Regions from separate parts of the Homo sapiens genome. Here region 1 is linked to region 2. Evidence: promoter capture Hi-C in human tissues and cell types (Jung and others, 2019). All regions are on one chromosome and are shown on one strand. Each heading gives the region's core, a stretch centred on a gene start or on the middle of the fragment in contact. The rest is flanking DNA. Distances are from core to core; before and after follow the strand shown.

Evidence for each region. Contacts are between HindIII fragments. The study calls those that stand out against the background at their distance.
Region 1: a contact is called between the fragment with the promoter of OVOL3 here and a fragment that was not itself captured in region 2, in 3 of the 25 tissues and cell types used here (dorsolateral prefrontal cortex, pancreas and spleen).

The regions. Positions count from the first base shown.
Region 1 is chr19:36,109,285-36,112,993 of GRCh38, reverse strand. OVOL3 (ovo like zinc finger 3) reads right to left here and starts at 1,851. Exons shown (of 4, transcript NM_001302757.2): 1 at 1,698-1,851; 2 at 1,561-1,625; 3 at 30-234. The coding sequence starts at 1,791. It also overlaps a transcript of WDR62 not described here. RefSeq lists enhancers at 992-1,621, 1,622-2,252. The HindIII fragment of the contact is 22,945 bases long and covers 1-3,709 here.
Region 2 is chr19:35,971,703-35,975,451 of GRCh38, reverse strand. No RefSeq gene overlaps it. Among named protein-coding and RNA genes, the nearest start is that of SDHAF1, 22 kb to the left of the region's middle. RefSeq lists a silencer at 1,698-1,898. The HindIII fragment of the contact is 9,546 bases long and covers 1-3,749 here.

The DNA.
Region 1 (3,709 bases), core at 602-3,101, 140 kb before region 2:
AACTTTTCCCTGTCCCTGCCACTGCTCACCAGTGTGAGTCCTCATGTGGCGCTTGAGATCGAAGGCGTCATGAAAGCCCTTGCCACAACAGCGGCACAGGTGGCGGCGCACGGGGCTGTGGCACTTGAGGTGCCTTGTCAGCATGCGCTGCAGAGGGAAGGCCTTAGGGCAGAGCGGGCAGCCCAGCGTCCCAGGGCCCCTGGGAGCAGAGGTCAGGTTGCCCTGTGTGGGCTGCTGGAGGGATGCAGGAGTTATTAGCCTCTCTGGCTGGACCCCATCCACCCTTTGTTACTCTGCAAATGAGTATTTACAGAGTGTCCTGAGCCACCACGGAGGATTAGGAAGGCAGGTGGGAGACAGTGATTAGTGTGTGTGCCTGTCACTCTCCAGGGCCTTCCCTCACTATCCCATGGTCCTTACTTTCTCTATGCCAAGTCCCATCTTCTGATGTGACATACACATTTTTTTTTTTTAAAGACAGAGTCTTGCTCTGTCGCCCAGGCAGGAGTGAAGTGGTATGATGTCAGGTCACTGCAACCTCCGCCTCCCGGGTTCAAGCGATTCTAGTGCCTCAGCCTCCCCACGATTACACGATTGTAGGCATGCGCCACATGCCCAGTTAATTTTTTTATTTTTTGTAGAGATGGGGTTTCACCATGTTGGCCAGGCTGGTCTTGAATTCCTGACCTCAAGCAATCCACCCACCTTGGCCTCACAAAGTGCTGGGATTACAGGCATGAGCCACTATGCCCGGTCTATTTTTCTAATTTTATTGTTTTTTTTGAGGGGGGATGGAGTCTAGATCTGTTTCCCAGGCTGGAGTGCAGTGGCGCAGACTCGGCTCACTGCATCCTCTGCCCTGCCTCCTAGGTTCAACTGATTCTCCTGCCTCAGCCTCCTGAGGAGCTGGGATTACAGGCACGTGCCACCATGTCTGGCTAATGTTTGTAATTTTAGTAGAGACAAGGTTTCAACATGTTGGCCAGCCTGGTCTCGAACTCATGACCTCAAGTGATTCACCCGCCTCGGCCTCCCAAAGTGCTGGAATTACAGGCTGACTAATTTTATTGTCTATACATGCAGCCCCAACCAGAATATAAGCTCCATAAAATTGTGGATTTTTGTCTTATTCCCGCTGAATATAACAGCCCATGCCTAGAACAGTGCCTTGCTTTCATGAATATATTACATTCCGGCTGGCGCTTTCCTTCCTCCAATGCATGCACAGCTGAAAAAGCCCTTATCTCCCATCGCACTCCTGTTGCCTTGTCCCATGTTCTGACATAAAGCGGATCATCCACATGTGGGGATGAATCTTGTGCCCCGCTGGAAGAGATCCCTGTGGCTGCCGGCCCTGGTGCCTGGGGTGAGACCTAACAGTAGAGAGCTCACTACTAGGAAAGGAGAGGCATTCCCAACACAGAGAAGTAGGGGCGGACAGGTCCCGAGGCTGGAGGGCGTGTGCAGATGGGTCGGGGGAGCAAGGGGCTGTCAGCTTCATTAAGGCTGAGAGCAGGCAGGAGCGAAACAGCTGGCTTTGCTAGCCAGTTACACACTCACCGCTGTCCACGGATCCCTGACACTGGACGACTGTTGTGCCGGTGGCCCCCCCAGGCTGCTGCAGTCTGAGGAGAAAAGCCAGATGGTGACACTGCGTCTCTCCTGCCCCTTACCTCCAGGCACAGTGAGGGGCCCACCTGGGATATAGGCATCTCCCCGGAGCTGGTCAGGCAGATGGCCCCAGTTGGGGGGCTGTGGACGCCGACTCCTGACCAGGAAGGCGCGGGGCATGCCCTCCGGAAGGCTCTCCACACACAGGGGCTGCTTCCACCTGCTGTCAGACCTCAGCCCCAGGATGACTATCCCTGGTGGGAAAGGAGGGGAAGCCTCTGAGGAACCTCATTCTCTTCATGCAAATTTCCTGGCTGGCCCTGGGAGTGGACTAAGCTGGCTCAGGTTACCCCTGCCTGGGGACCTGCCCATCTTCTCCCAGGTTTTGGAGGGAACCATCCAGCCTCCAGGGGTGGACAAGCACTAGGACCACCAAGCAGAGCCAGGCAAGGGGAGATGGGCCTGGGGAGCTTTTGAGGATAGGAAGAAGAAACAAGGCCCCAGGGGGACTGTCTCCCAGGGGTTGAGGGTCTGTTTGCCAGGCAAATCAGTCACCAGGGGACATCCAGCAGCCTGCCTGGTTATTCAAATCACAGCAGCTGTCTGAGGACACTGAAGGGGCCCCCTGCTGTGATTGCCCTGCTCTGTAGGGTGCAGGGAGGACAGCAGATCTGGATAAATCAGGGCAAAATGAGGATCCAGGCTGTGCATCCTCAGGTAGGATGCCCCACCTCTCTGATCTTCAGATTCCCAGGGCTAACATTCAGCCAGAAGCACTGTTCAGGTGTAGCAGGCACTAAAATACTAGTTTGTTAATAATCTAGCCCCTAGTTACTGCCTGGGACAACACTCTTCCTCCCTCCCACAGTCTGGAAAGTAAAAGGGGGTCTCCTATTTTTTTTTCTTTTTTTGAGACGGAGTTTCACTCTTGTTGCCCAGGCTGGAGTGCAGTGGCACCATCTTGGCTCACTGGAACCTCCACCTCCCGGGTTCAAACGATTCTCCTGCCTCAGCCTCCTGAGTAGCTGGGACTACAGGCATGCACCACCACACCGGGCTAATTTTTGTATTTTTGGTAGAGACAGAGTTTCACCATGTTGGCCAGGCTAGTCTTGAACTCCTGACGTCAAGTGATCCGCCTGCCTTGGCCTCCCAAAGTGCTGGGATTACAGGCATGAGCCACCGCACCTGGCCCAAAGGGGGTCTCTTGACACAGCCAGGGGCTCCCAGGACCCTACCCCGGCACACTGGCCAAGCTGTTTTACACTTGATTCTTAGCCAGAAGACTAAGAAGCAATCCAAGCTCTGTTTTTTAATTTTTTTTTTTTGAGGCGGAGTTTTGCTCGTTGCCCAGGCTGGAGTGCAATGGCGTGATCTTGGCTCCTCTATGACCTCCGCCTCCTGGGTTCAAGTGAGTCTCCTGCCTCAGCCTTCCAAGTAGCTGGGATTACAGGGGCACACCACTGCACCCAGCTGATTTTTTGTGTTTTTTGTAGAGATGGGGTTTCACCATGTTGGCCAGGCTGGTCTCAAACTCCTAAATGCAGGTGATCCGCCCGGCTCAGCCTCCCAAAGTGCTGGGATTACAGGCGTGAGCCACCGCGCCCAACCTGTTTTTATTTTTTTTGTTTTGTTTTGTTTTGTTTTTTGAGACAGATTCTCACTCTGTTGCCCAGGCTGGAGTGCAGTGGTACGATCTCCACACACTGCAGCCTCCGTCTCCTGGGTTCAAGCGATTCTGCTGCCTCAGTCCCCCAAGTAGCTGGGACTACAGGTGCGCACCACCACACCCGGCTAATTTTTGTATTTTTAGTAGAGATAGGGTTTCACCATGTTGGGCAGGCTGGTCTCAAACTCCTGACCTCGAGTGATCCACCTGCCTCAACCTCCCAAAGTGCTGGGATTACAGGCGTGAGCCATTGCGCCTGGCAACTAAACAATTTTCTAAGCTCCAGACCTAGCTTACTGAAAATGATCGCGTAAGTCCATGAAGGAGGCACACCAGTGACAGCCCAGAATGACCAAGACAGTGAGAGGCAAGTGAGGCAGAGACCCAGCCATGATGGGGAAAAGAGGGGTACCTGGGGACCCGAACAGG
Region 2 (3,749 bases), core at 771-3,270:
GGCACAATCTCGGCTCACTCCAATCTCCACCTCCTGAGTTCAAGCGATTCTCCTGTCTCAGCCTCCCTAGATTCTGGGATTATAGGCACCTGCCACCACACCCAACTAATTTTTGTATTTTTAGTAGAGATGGGGTTTCATCATATTGGTCAGGCTGGTCTTGAACTCCTGACCTCAGATTATCCGCCTGCCTCAGCCTCCTAAAGTGCTGGGATTACGGGCATGAGCCACCGCGCCTGGCAGGACCCTGTCTCTTAAAAAAGGAAGAAGCAGCCTGTGTCGCAGGCACAAGTATGCCCGCAGGGCAGTGGTAACCCCCAGTGGGCCTGCCTGTGGGGGGTCTCTGGACAGGATAAGCCACATGGCTCATAGTGATTGTTTTCGGGGCACTCAATAGCTGCAGGGGCAGGAGTGGGGATGGAGAAAGACAGGAAGGGAAAGGTATTCACACCAGGACTCCCAGGTCTGGTTTCCAAGACCCAAGCATTTGGCCACCCCTATAGTGCAAATGTCCCTGCTCTCAGCTTCCAGGAATCCCTACCAACATCCTGTGGTCCTCACCCTCTAGAATGGAGCTCTCCAGGCAACAGACCCAGCAATCCCTGCCTCACAGAGTAAAGAAGTCTCTGTGCTAAGAAACCAGAAGTCCACTCCCCAGAACATAGAAGTCTGGCTCTGGGACAGGCGTAGTGGCTCACATCTGTAATCCCAGCATTTTGGGAGGCCAAGGTGGGAGGATCACTTGAGCTCAGGAATTAGAGACCAGCCTGGGCAACATAGGAAGACCTCATCTTTACAAAAAAAATTAAAAAATTATCTGGGCATAGTGGCACATGCCCGTGGTCCCAGATACTTGGGAAGCTGAGGAGGGAGGATGGCTTGAGCCTGGGAGGTTGAGGCTGCAGTGAGCTATGATAGTACCACTGCACTCCAGCCTTGGCAACAGAGTGATACCCTGTCTAAATAAACAACAGAGTGACATCCTGTCTAAATAAATAAATAAGTCTGGCTCTGGGACTCAGAGCGCTCACCCCAGATACTGGAGTTGTCACCACCTAGGTGTTCTAGTCTCTAGAACTTGAGAACCCAGCAGTCCCAGCCCTATAGCCAAGTTGTTCCCATGCCCAGGACCCAGAAGCCCTGGCCCCAGACCCAAAGAGCCCTGTCTCTGGGCCCTAGAATTATTTTCCCCGCACCCCCCAACTCAGCAGTCTTGCCCCCAGGACCCAGAGGCTGTCCCCTTCCAGGGACCCTACACCCTTGCCCCAGGAATCAGCCTCCAGAACTAAGGAGTGTCATTCCTAAGTCCCAGAATCCCCTTTACCCAGCAGCCTATAACCCTTTCCCTTGAAGGGTCACTCACGGCAGCCAGCCCAGAAGCTCGAGGGCTCAGTGTTGACACTGAGGCCTGACAGGGTGTACACAGACATGGAAGCACTCCCAAAGCGTAGGCAGGGAGCTGGGGAAGGGGCATATCCAGGCACGGCACTGGCCTCGAAGGGTGTAGGTGTCACACTTGGTGGCAGTGGCTAAGGGGCCCCTTTGGGGCTACAGGGACAGCACAGGGCCCCCAGTCTCCTGTGGGGACTAAGGCTTGGCTCAGGGTATCAGGTGGCTGCGGGGCCCAAATGCACGAAGACCAGTGGATCTGGACTGCCCATGTCATGGTCCTGCCTGAATGAAGTCACTGCACAGTCTGCCTTGTGTGAGTGGCAACCTTCAGCCACGTGCAGTGACGTGTGTGCTGCCGGTTGTAAAAGAGATGCAGTGTGGGCGGTTCTTGCTCCAGACCTGCCTCTGCCCATGGTTCTGAGGTGTGGAAGTACAACCATAGCCATCTGTCGCCCAGGATAACTGACAGCCCCAGCTGCTGTGGGTTCCCCTGCAGGAGTGACCAAGAGCTGGGGTCTTCAGAGGGGCTGAATTCCTGAGCATCGGGGAGGGGTGGAGGATAAGGAGGTTGAGGGGGTTGGATTCTGGGATATTGAGAGTGGGGCCTTTGCAGATCTAGGATGCCCCACCCTCGTCTACTAACCAAGAATCTTTCTTTTTCTTCTTCTTCTTCTTTTTTTTTTTTTCGAGACAGAGTCTCACCCTGCCGCCCAGGTTGGAGTGCAGTGGCACAGTCTCGGCTCACTGCAAGCTCCGTCTCCTGGGTTCACGCCATTCTCCTGTCTCAGCCTCCCCAGTAGCTGGGACTACAGGCGCCTGCCACCACGCCCCGTAATTTTTTGTATTTTTAGTAGAGACAGGGTTTCACTGTGCTAGCCAGGATGGTCTCGATCTCCTGACCTTGTGATCCGCCCACCTTGGCCTCCCAAAGTGCTGTGATTACAGGTGTGAGCCACCGTGCCCAGCTAACCAAGAATCTTTCTGTGTGTGTGTGTGTGTGTGTGTGTGTGTGTGTGTGTGTGTGTGTGTGTGTGTGTTTAAGTAGAGACGAGGTTTCGTCATGTTGCCCAGGCTGGTCTGGAACTCCTGAGCTCAAGCAGTCTGCCCACCTTGGCCTCCTAAAGTGCTGGGATTGTAGATGTGAGCCACCATGCCCAGCCTCTATCCGGGAATCTTTTTTTTTTTTTTTTTTTTTTTTGAGACAGAGTCTCGCTCTGTCTCCCAGGCTGGAATGCAGTGGCGAGATCTTGGCTCACTGCAACCTCCACCTCCCAGGTTCAAGCAATTCTGCTCTCTCAGCCTCCTGAGTAGCTGGGATTACAGGCGTGCACTACCATGCCAAGCTAATTTTTGTAGTTTTAGTAGAGACAGGGTTTCACCATGTTGGTCAGGCTGGTTTTGAACTCCTGACCTCGTGATCCGCCCGCCTTGGCCTCCCAAAGTGTTGGGATTACAGGCGTGAGCCACTGTGCCCGGCCTTCTTTTTTTTTTTTTTTAAACTGGGAGTCTTGATTTCAATATCCAGATTTGTCCTAACACAATACTTGCAAGTCCTCTTCTCAGGAATCTAGATGAGTAATCCTACCAAGGAGCCAGGTGTGCCCACCTCATCCAGTAAACAGGAGAGCCTTCAGACAGGACCCAAGGGCTTCCCCCATTACCAAGAGCCTCCACCTGTCCTTCCAGATCAAGGGGTACCTCCTTTCTCCCAGTCCATGATTTCCTTATTTTGCCTCACTTGGTGGTTTCCAGCCCACATTTCTCCTGCGTTCACTGCCCCACCCTGGTCCAAGCCCCATTGTCTCCTGCCGGGACTACTGCAGCAGCCTCCTCACTGTTGTTCCTCCAGGCCTCATTCCTTCACAAGCCCTGTAATCTGTTCTCAACTGGCAGCCACAGGGATGTTGTTAGTGTCTGATATAGTTTGGCTATTTGTCCCTGCCCAAATCTTGGCAGGGCGCAGTGGCTCACGCCTGTAATCCCAGCACTTTGGGAGGCTGAGGCAGGTGGATCACCTGAGGTCAAGAGTTCCAGACCAGCCTGGCCAACATAGTGAAACCCCGTGTCTACTAAAAACACAAAAATTATCCGAGTGTGGTGGCATGTGCCTGTAGTCCCAGGCTACTTGGGAGGCTGAGGCAGGACAATTGCTTGAACCTGGGAGGCAGAGGTTGCAGTGAGCCAAGATCTCACCACTGCACTCCAGCCTGGGCAACAGAGTGAGACTCAGTCTCAAAAAAAAAAAAAAAATTCTAAAATTCCAATTAATTGAGGAAGGAACACAGGAGTGTCAAGTCCTTGGGAAAAGAGGGATCATGTTGGTGAGAGTATAAGTCTGGAGCCCTGAGTATCTGAAG